4 separate regions of the Homo sapiens genome follow, and all the other regions are linked to region 1. The links are contacts of gene promoters, found by promoter capture Hi-C in human tissues and cell types (Jung and others, 2019). All regions are on one chromosome and are shown on one strand. The core of a region is centred on a gene start or on the middle of the fragment in contact, and the rest is flanking DNA. Distances in the headings are between cores, read along the strand shown.

Evidence for each region. Contacts are between HindIII fragments. The study calls those that stand out against the background at their distance.
Region 2: a contact is called between the fragment with the promoter of HSPA5 here and the fragment with the promoter of NR6A1 in region 1, in 1 of the 25 tissues and cell types used here (hippocampus).
Region 3: a contact is called between a fragment that was not itself captured here and the fragment with the promoter of NR6A1 in region 1, in 1 of the 25 tissues and cell types used here (IMR-90 fibroblasts).
Region 4: a fragment that was not itself captured here is called in contact with the fragment with the promoter of NR6A1 in region 1 in 2 of the 25 tissues and cell types used here (dorsolateral prefrontal cortex and lymphoblastoid cells).

The regions. Positions count from the first base shown.
Region 1 is chr9:124,770,043-124,772,568 of GRCh38, forward strand. It overlaps NR6A1 (nuclear receptor subfamily 6 group A member 1), which reads right to left and starts at 1,269. Exons shown (of 10, transcript NM_033334.4): 1 at 978-1,269. The coding sequence starts at 1,077. LOC124900274 (a long non-coding RNA gene) reads right to left here and starts at 438. Exons shown (of 2, transcript XR_007061773.1): 1 at 1-438. It overlaps LOC107987126 (a long non-coding RNA gene), which reads left to right and starts at 1,315. Exons shown (of 2, transcript XR_001746926.3): 1 at 1,315-1,731. RefSeq lists silencers at 1-218, 759-1,338 and enhancers at 1,051-1,618, 1,409-1,668. The HindIII fragment of the contact is 6,332 bases long and covers 1-2,526 here.
Region 2 is chr9:125,240,083-125,242,608 of GRCh38, forward strand. HSPA5 (heat shock protein family A (Hsp70) member 5) reads right to left here and starts at 1,261. Exons shown (of 8, transcript NM_005347.5): 1 at 923-1,261; 2 at 594-825; 3 at 90-227. The coding sequence starts at 1,044. HSPA5-DT (HSPA5 divergent transcript) reads left to right here and starts at 1,574. Exons shown (of 3, transcript NR_186826.1): 1 at 1,574-1,981. RefSeq lists enhancers at 670-749, 891-1,395, 1,288-1,582, 1,396-1,900, 1,550-1,859. The HindIII fragment of the contact is 17,872 bases long and covers 1-2,526 here.
Region 3 is chr9:124,389,466-124,391,991 of GRCh38, forward strand. The region is part of intron 5 of PSMB7 (proteasome 20S subunit beta 7); the gene reads right to left. Among named protein-coding and RNA genes, the nearest start is that of PSMB7, 25 kb to the right of the region's middle. The HindIII fragment of the contact is 4,032 bases long and covers 1-2,526 here.
Region 4 is chr9:125,109,356-125,111,881 of GRCh38, forward strand. The region is part of intron 2 of SCAI (suppressor of cancer cell invasion); the gene reads right to left. Among named protein-coding and RNA genes, the nearest start is that of SCAI, 33 kb to the right of the region's middle. The HindIII fragment of the contact is 3,457 bases long and covers 1-2,526 here.

The DNA of each region.
Region 1 (2,526 bases), core at 19-2,518:
GGCGAGGGGGCGAGGGACGAGCGGTAGGAAGGGCCGGGCCAGGTGAGGGATTCTCAGCTCCCAAGGTCCCGGATCGGGACAAGAAAGAGGAGAACTGAGACTAAGAGGTGGGGACCGGGACCTGCCGGGCAGAAGCCGGGAGGAGGCAGGTGTCCGGGGCCCCGGGGCGGGCTGGAGCCCTCGGCCAGGGAAAGCCGTTGCCTGGCGGAGAGGGGAGCTGAGCAGGGGCGGAGACCGGCCAGAGCGCGCGGGGCGTTGAGGAAGGTGAGGCGCAGGGGAAGCAGGAGGCGCGAAGGGGTCCGAAAAAGGAAACGACTGGGGGATGTCTAGCGAACGGGGGTTCGGCAGAGGTGGGGGGCTCGTAGTATTCAAGGAAGAACGCTCGAGGCTGCAGAAGAGGAAAACGCTCTAGAAAGCTGAGCGGTACAAGGGTGCTGTGGAGTCGGGTCAACAGGGCAAGAAGGGAGCGTCCTCGGTGGGAGGAGGAACCCCTGTAGGGGAAAAGAGAGGCTCTGCGTTAAGGGAACCCGAGTGAGGGGATGCCCCCACTGACGGACCGCGGTGGGGACTTCCAACCTGAGGAGCCCGGGGGGAGGGGAAGGTTCGGTGCTGGGAAGACAGGGGGAGGGGACCCGGGGGGAGGAGGGAGGATTGGTGCTGAGGGGACGGGGGGAGGGGAAGCCTGTGCAGAGGGGACGGGGGGAGGGGGAAATGAAGCTCGGTGCCCAGGGACCCGGGCAGGGGGAGGGTCCGCGCAGAAGGGAACAGGGACGAAGGAGGAGGATCCACCCTGAGCGAGACCGGGGAGGAGAGGGAGGGTCCGCGCCAACGGGGAACGGGGTGAAGGGCCACCCTAAGGGGCCGCGGGGCCGCTGCGGCTTCCCAGGGCGAGGGTCGGCAGAGAGGAGGGGGATCCCTGGCGGAGGCTCAGGAAGCCGGTTCCTGCCTGGCCCGGGCGTCGCAGGCCCCTCACCCACCGTTGCGCGGCGGCGGAGGGAGCGCGGCGGGAGGCTCCAGGAACCCCGCCGAGCCCCCGCCGCCTCCCCCTCCGCTAGGCGGCGGTTCGTCCCGCTCCATGCGGTGGTGCCTAGGGTCCGCGCCGGGTTTGTTGCTCCGCCATGACCGGCGCCCTAGTCGCCGTGGTCGTCGTCCGCCGAGGGGAGGAGGTTGTCAGGAGCCCGCGAGCTCCCGGCCGCGGCTCTCTCTGGGCCCCGAGCCGCCCGGCTCCGCGCCGCTCCGCGCCCCTCCGCGCCGCGCCCCCTCAGCACTGGCCAGCTCCCTCCCCTGACGTCACACGCCGCTGCCGCGCAAGGCCCTGCGGGGCACGCTGGAAGTTGGAGTCCGCTCAGCGAGGCCGGCCACGCCGACCGCACCAACTGAAGGGGTGGAAGGAGGGATAAGAAGTCCTGAGAAGGGAAAGCTAAAGTCTGTCAATATCAAGAACCATGACAAAGCGTTTGATGTCTATGTAGTAAGCGGATACTTCCGGGCCTTGTCTTGATTGTGATTTCTACCTGATCAAAGTTCCCTAAGAGTCCTCGTAACCCCCCACCCCAACAATGAGTCTTTGCGAGGAGGTGGATCGCGAGGCAGCCGGGTGAGCACGTGCAACGAAGCCCAGCCCTGTGGGCGGGGCCCTGGAGGCGGGGCTTGAAGGTACTCACGTGGGCCTCTCCCTGCCGCTGCGGGACAAATTGGACCGGAGATTAAAGGACCGGAGTTTAACTCGAGGTGACTGCGTTCGTATGCAAATGGAATATATAAAACTCTTCTTTCCGGGGTAGTCTTTAAAGACTTTTTACCTCCGGGTGGGCGGCAAAGACTAAAGTTTCCCCTCCTCCCCTTTCATTTTCCCCCTGCCCATAGAACAGATGGGCAAACTAAGCTCCGGGCCATTGGGGCTATTAAAGAAAGCCCTAGGCTCTTGACCCCAGGTGTCTTGAAACCTTCCGTTTAAGAGGGATCCCTTGCCCAGCCTTGTTTGCCTTCCCCTTTCCTCAGTTTCCCTATCTGTAAAAGGGGGTTGGAATAAGGACAGGATCAAGTTGGAAGATCGCAAACCCCTGCCCCTCCCACCTCAGTTTCCCGAAGCTTTCCGGAAGCAAAATCCCGAATTTTGCAGCGGCTCCCGGCCGAATCCACCCGCTGCGGCCACCAGGTGGCGCGCGGCCACCGGTCACTAGGCCCGCCGGGGTGTCCGTCTTCGGCGACCCCATCGGGAAAGGATTTCGCTGCTGCCGCCAAGGGTCTAAGGCCTACCTGGCCCACTTGAAGACAAAGAACGAGAACGTTGGTGCTTTGCCCACTTCTGCTCTGCCGGATTATGCTGCAGCTTCCTCGGTGGCCGCTCATTCGCCCTCTCCTGCCCCACCCGCCCCACCAATCCCTTAGCCCTTTTATTTTTTTTTTGCCTAATTTTAAGTCCTCGTCCTGGCATTCGCATCCCTGCTTGGCCTGACCCTTGCCCACATTTCGCACCATACCCCGTCCCTCACCTGCTACGAAAGTTGCAACGCTTCTCTGCAC
Region 2 (2,526 bases), core at 11-2,510, 470 kb after region 1:
GAAACCCTTCACGAAGGCTTCTATACATAACAGCCAACCGAGAATACTAATGATCAAAAAATACTTAACATTGTTCTAGAAATATTTACCTTCTTTCCCAAATAAGCCTCAGCGGTTTCTTTCATTTTAGTGAGAACCATGGCAGAAATTTCTTCAGGAGCAAATGTCTTTGTTTGCCCACCTCCAATATCAACTTGAATGTATGGTTTAGTTTTCTTTTCAACCACCTATTTTAAAGAATTATTGTTTTCAGACACAGATACAATGACATCTCAAAGTTTAAAAGACCCACTACCATCCCCACAATTTGGTTTATTTTGGTCCCTTGGGGCTGCAAATTGACTAGAAATACTTCAGGGAGTATAGGTGTCTTACAAAGTTCAGTTTTAATCGGTCTTTTATTCCTAAACTATCGTAGACAGTACGACAGCAACTGTCTTAAGTTTTGTAACATACTAATAGTATTAAAGTTATTACATACATCATGTCTATAACCTTCAACTGTTGTCTCAACACTTTTCCAGAGACTTATAACTCTAAATACTCCCACCACCCACCCGTTCTCTAACTGGATGAGAAAAACCCGGTCGAACCTTGAACGGCAAGAACTTGATGTCCTGCTGCACAGACGGGTCATTCCACGTGCGGCCGATGAGCCGCTTGGCGTCAAAGACCGTGTTCTCGGGGTTGGAGGTGAGCTGGTTCTTGGCGGCATCGCCAATCAGACGTTCCCCTTCAGGAGTGAAGGCGACATAGGACGGCGTGATGCGGTTGCCCTGATCGTTGGCGATGATCTCCACGCGGCCGTTCTTGAACACGCCGACGCTGGCAGAAAAACCCGACAGAGGGACATCAGCACCGCACTTCTCACGCCAGGCCAGGCGGCCACGCCCCGTCCCCCTGCATCCGCAACCCCACTTACCAGGAGTAGGTGGTCCCCAGGTCGATGCCGACCACCGTGCCCACGTCCTCCTTCTTGTCCTCCTCCTCGGCCCGCGCCGCGCTGAGCAGCAGCAGCATCGCGGCCACCAGGGAGAGCTTCATCTTGCCAGCCAGTTGGGCAGCAGCAGGCAGTCCAGCCACAGGCCGTAGCACAGGAGCACAGCGCAATTTCCGACTTGCAGGCGGCAGGGGCCCGGGGTCACAAGGCGCCACGAACCAGGCGAAGGGCAGGTCTAGAAATACAGGCCGCGGCGCTTCCCTCTCACACTCGCGAAACACCCCAATAGGTCAATCTGTCTGTGCTGTCTTGGCCGGCGTCGACCTCACCGTCGCCTACTCGGCTTATATACCCTCCCCCAGCCCCGTCGTGGAGGCCGCCGATTGGTGAAGGCCCTGCTCGTTGGAGGCCGTTCATTGGCCCAGGCCACCAAGCTGGCCGCCGCCGATTCGAAGCGGCCCCCTCCGCAATAAACGTCACTGCTCCGCCCCCCCCAGCTGATTCATTGGCTGCTATTCGTTTCTAACGTTCACCAATGGTAGATAACATCCGCCCCATCCGCTGGTCCCATTGGTTCAGCAGCTGTCTATCTCTCCTGCGACTTCTGACCCCGAGGCATTTCCGCTGGTAACCGCACAAGTCCCGCCTTCACTCCCGGCCCTAGGGGGTCGGAGTAGGTCCAGCAGGAGTGACCCCCCGGGGCTGTGGGATCTGAAACTTTTTCTTCTCTACTGCTTGTTCTCCCTTCCTCCATCCCTCACCCCGAAGCGGGAAGCAGCTTTCTCTTCCCAGCTTCCATCCAGTCTCTGAGTAGACCAGTCGCAGCTTAGATGCTGGGATCGCCTCAGAACACATTTCTTTGCCCTTCACGGCCACTACCGGTATTGGGGTATGCGAGTCTCAGGGCCGTTCGTTGCTCACAGGTCGAGCTGGTCTGGACTCTGTTCGACCACGAATCATGACTCCTTCCTGCCAGTTATGTCCCCTCCGCACCCTTGCCCAGCCATTTTACCAGGCCTCTCCACATTGCGCTGCCCCACGGTAAGTCGCAGGACAAGCCCGGCCAAAGGAATTGCCTCCAGCTCTGAGTCCCCTCCCTACTGTGGCAACCCACTCCAGTGCCAGCCCTCCCACACTGGATGTCTAATTTTTCTAGCTTGCCACCCTTTACTTTCCCCTCCGCTGCCCATCCTTTCCCTCTGGGGCAAAGGTTATCATTTACGGGGCTTTCTCCATCCTTTATTGTTGATACTTTTCTACCTTCATTCCAGGAAAAGGTCTGATGTACACGCAGACAACACATTTGATAGGCGAAAATCGTCTTGATAATGCCTTATTCTTATATAACATCCTGTTGCAAAAAATAATAGAGACCACTATTTGCTGAAAGCCTACCGTGGATTAAGCATTGTTCAGTGTGCTTTTCATGTGTCATTTAGTCTTGACAGTTCAATACTCGGTAGGCATTTCCCGTTTTCCAGATGAGGACATTGAAACTGAAAAAGATTAAATAACTAAACAAGTCACAGAGCTGGTGAGTGATGGAGTTAGGATTGATAACCAGGTGGAGTTCACTCTATTGCCAA
Region 3 (2,526 bases), core at 9-2,508, 380 kb before region 1:
GAATGTAAGTGAGGACACTATGATGGCTACCTAGTCCCCTCAGACTGACCTCCTGCATCCACTGCCCTCCCCCAAGCCCACCTACACACCCTGTTCAACACCCGCCACCCCAACCCACCAAGAAGCCGGGCTGTGGAGAGACAGGGAGGCAGGGAGGACAAATGTCTCTTTCCCTTTCACCTGCAGGGCACTCCCCCATCCACTGCAGACACTCCACAGCTGCTCCAGCTAGGTCCTCATTCAAAGCTCCTCCTGCAACCAATGCCCTGTGGAGTCCTGGAAAGAGCACCTGGCCTGCTTCCCAGCTCTGTCAGGGCCGGACTCACCCACAGACCCTCTTGTCACCCACATCTGCTGCGCCCCAGGAGAAGGAGTCCCAAGCACCAGTTCCACAAGGACCACACCTCCAGCCAGTCTGTTACAATGAAACATCTTATAATAGCAGGCCCACTAGCTTATAAACAAAATTACTAGCTCCTTTAAGAATGTAAAATAAAAGCCCTGAAACTCCGAAAAATACATGCAACATGCAGAACATTAATAACTAAAAAGAGCTCACAGATAACTACATCAAGACTCCAAGAGAGAAGACAGTAGTTTACGAAAGAGAAAAGGTAGAGGCCTATATACATTAAGCAACACTGATCAAGTTCACTAGCAATCAAAGAAATATGAATTGAAGTAAAATAACTACCTTTTGCCTTTTTAATTAGCAAAGATTAAAAAGAATAATAGTGCTGACAAAGGTGTGATCAAATGGGTACTTTGACACACTTGGAGAAGCAGAAATGGATAGAACTCTTCTAATGGGCAATGTAGAAACATCGATTGGAAATCATACAGCTATACATACCCACCAAACCAGCAAATCTCTTAGGGACTTATTCTAAAGAAACACATGGACAAGTACCCAAGTCACGTATCTTAAAAGATCATTGTTTAGATTAAAGGGGAAAAAAAAAATACCTGGAAGTAAATGTAAAGGTTCAACAATCAGGAGCCAGGGAAAATAAACAATAAAATACTATACACACAGACATTAAACATGACAAAGTAGAAGTACATTTTTTTGGCAATGGGAAGAGATCCATGCTATAGTATTTAGTGGGGGAAAAACATGTTCTAAAGCAAAATTAACAGACATGCTTATGCACTATATATTATACAAACCTGGAAGCATATAAATCAAAATATTAAGCTTATTTCTGGGTGGTGCTATTTTCTTTTTACTTGTATTTTTAAATTTTTCTTCAAAGTGCAGGCATTAATAGCAATTTTTTAAGGTATAAAAAATTGAAGAAAATCCAACATTGTGAGGGGATGGAAAAAACAAGCAAAAGACCAAGACTTTGCTAGCTGTCACAGTCTCCGTGTAACAGCAGCAGCAGGCAGCTTATTCCTTACATTTGTATACAAGGGCCTAAAGGTCAATCCATGCATGAGTCAACAGACCCAAAGAACAACAGCAATCAATCATCACAAACAAATACACCATGTCTCTCCTGCCTAACGTCCTTAGGAGGGCTTCCTTAGGACCGTCTTAGAGGTACAATCATCTTAATAATGAAGTCCTCTGAGCGTTTCAGCATGGGGCTAGACCCCACTTATCCAGAAGTGTACTCTTGGCAAACACAGCACTGAACAAACTACAACAGATGCACACGGTACTTAAGAACTTTCACAGCACAGTCACATCAGTTTTGTTTGCTCTTCAGGCATGGCAAGTAGTAGTAGTCCCATTTTACAAAAGGAGAATAAAGCTCAAAGATAAGGAACGTGCCCAGATCACACAGCCAGTGATAAGCAAATCTGGGATTCTGAAGCCAGATCTTTCTGAATTTAAAGTGTGCGATGTTCTTTCCATTCCACCACGTTTGCCTCTTAAATAGCAAAGCCAAATGCTTGAAATCAAGATTAGCAAGTAAGCCTGGGAGATGGAGCTATCTTTTCTTAGCTCCCCACCCCAAAAAAGCATGCTTTCAAACTTGCTTCTTCTTTAGATTTCAGCTCGATTACCACACACATCTGGATATAGTTAATTTGTGTTGTTTTGCTTGGAAATTCAAATGAGACTGGAATTTAGTTAAATGTTTTAAATGATTAAACATATGCCATTCACTGTTTAGCAATGCCACTCAAGTATCTGTTATAACAGCATTTATTTTAAAATAGTCTCATTCAAAAAAAAAAAAAAACCTAAAATTAGTCTCCATTTTCTAAAACCTCTGAAGGTGTTTCGATCTTAGCTTACCAGGATTAGTAACTCACTTTGAAACTAACTTTTTCTGAGCGAACAATCCAATTCAGGATGAAATCTGAAATTTTACAATCTAGATATTGCTTTTACTTGTTCTGTACATTTAAATGTGTTATTTTTCTATGTCAGAGTTCACTAAAATACTCAACAAACTTAGCAATTCTATAATCTATGTTATTAGATATGCTAAAGAAACAGTAAAAGACTGAAATAATTTCCTAAAACCTGCTGCTTCTAAGTCAAAAGCTAGGAAGGACCTGAAAGGTAGA
Region 4 (2,526 bases), core at 20-2,519, 340 kb after region 1:
TTAAAAAATAATAATAATAATAATAATAAAAGACAGGTCTCTGGTAACAGAGAAAGAGGAGCTTACATTTGTTATTAAAGTGCCATGTATTTAATAAAACACCAAACAATTTTAAAAAAATGAGTAAATAATTTAAAGAACTATACTTTCAATTCACCATTCCCACCTTTTTATTCAATACATACCCTAACATATCTTTCCCTTATCAGTAACCCATTACTACAGAAGTAAAATGTGTTATTGACTGACAAAGCCCAAATGAACTACTGAAGCAACTACTTAAATCAAGGTTTCCATTTATCTATCTATCTATCTATCTATCTATCTATCTATCTATGTATTTATTTTTGAGGCACAGTCTCACTCTGTCTCCCAGGCTGGAGGGCAGTGATGTGATCTCGGCTCACTGCAACCGCCACCTTCCAGGTTCAAGCAATTCTCTTGCCTCAGCCTCCCAAGTAGGTGAGATTACAGGCACGCACCACCACGCCCAGCTAATTTTTGTATTTTTTAGTAGAGATGGGGTTTCGCCATGATGGCCAGGCTGGTCTCAAACTCCTGACCTCAAGTGACCCACCCGCCTCGGCCTCCCAAAGTGCTGGGATTACAGGCATGAGCCACCATGTCTGGCCCCAAGCATGCTTTAATTTAATTCAAATATCTGTTTATAGGCCTTAAGACTCAGATGATAGGAAGTTTTAGTAAATACAGAATCTACCCACTAGTTGATATTCTAGTAGAGAGGATAAAAGAGTTTACAAATTTAAACATACGTATTATGTTGGTATGACACCATTTGAAAAAGTTTAAGATTGGAAAGTTTATTCATTATAAGATGTATGACCTTGAACAGATCATTTGTCTTCATAGAAAAACACAGCTGACCAAAACCGAAACAAGTGCAAATGGAAAACCTAAACAATCCTATATCTGTTAGAGAAGTAGATCTGTAATTAAACAGTGGTCCAAATGTGAGACTATGTTTCTAAAACACAATTTTAAAAATTAGCTGGGGATGGTGGCACACACCTATAATCCCAGCTATTCAAGAGACTGAGGTGGGAGGATCACTTGAGGCCAGGAGTTCAAGACCAGCCTGGACGACTGATATGGTTTGCATCTGTATCCCTGACCAAATCTCATGTTGAACAGCAATCCCCAATGTTGGAGGTGGAGTCTGGTGGGAGGGAATTGGATCATGGGGGTAGTTCCTCATGATTTCAATTGGCAATAGTGAGTTCTCGTGAGATCTGGTTGCCTCCCCACTCTCTTGCTCCTGCTCCAGCCATGTAAGACCTGCCTGCTTCTCCTTCACCTTCCACCATGAGGCCTCCACAGAAGCAGAAGCTGCTGTGCTTCCTGTTCTGCCTGTAGAACTGTGAGCCAATTAAGCCTATTTCTTTACAAATTTACCCAGTCTCAGTTATTTCTATATAGCAGTATGAGAATGGACTAATATGGTTCTGCTCCTGCCATTTAAGAGGCCTGCTCCCGCTTTGCCTCCACCATGAGTAAAAGCGCCCTGAGGCCTCCCCAGAAGCAGATGCTGCCATGCTTCCTGAACAGCCTGTGGAACCGTGAACCAATTAAACCGCTTCTCTTTAAAAAAGAACACCAGTATTATGCAAACTTTTCTAGAGAAAAAGAGAGAACATTTCCCACCCACTATAACCTTGGATAACCATTTATAAGGAAAATCTTGATGTCCAAACCTGAAGAAGGGCAGTGTATGTACAAAATATAGATGTAAAAATCTTAAAACACATATGAGTAAATTGAATTCAGCAATATGTTAAAAAAGGATCGTGACTAAGTTGGGTTTGTTCCAGAAATTTAAGGTTGGTTTAACATTTAAAAAAAAAATCAATCAAATTAATTCAACACATTAGAAGGAAAAAAAGAGAAAGAAAAAAAATCATATGATCTTCTCAATAGATACAGAAAAAGCATTTGATAAAATTAAACATCCATTCAGAATTTTTTAAAAAGACCTCAAAGACTTCTACTTCTATCCAAGGTATAGTAACGGGGACTAGATTTACCCTCCTATCTGGAAAAAAAGGAAGAAAGCAGATGAAATAGAGTAAATCAAGCTTGTCCAACCCATGGCCCATGAACCACACGCAACCCAGGATGGCTTTGAATGTGGCCCAACACAAATTCGCAAACTTCCTTAAAACATTATGAGACTTTTTTTGTGAAAATTTTTTTTTTTTTTTAGTCCATCAGCTATCATTAGTGTTAGTGTATTTTATATGTGGCCCAAGACAACTGTTCTTCTTCCAGTGTGGCCCAGGGAAGCCAAAGATTGTACATCCCTGGACTAAATAGTGGTTTTCAAGACATTGGACATTAGGCAGCAAGGACAGTGATCTCTGAGGACAAAAGAAGGGAGGGCCTACAACTACCCCAGCTGACTGCCTTGAGAGCATTTCTAGGATGTAGCGCAGGGAAGAGGAACTCAGGCAGAGGCCCTGAGTTAAAAAGATGGAGCTGAGTGTCTAGAGACGCTAAGGCATCTAGAGT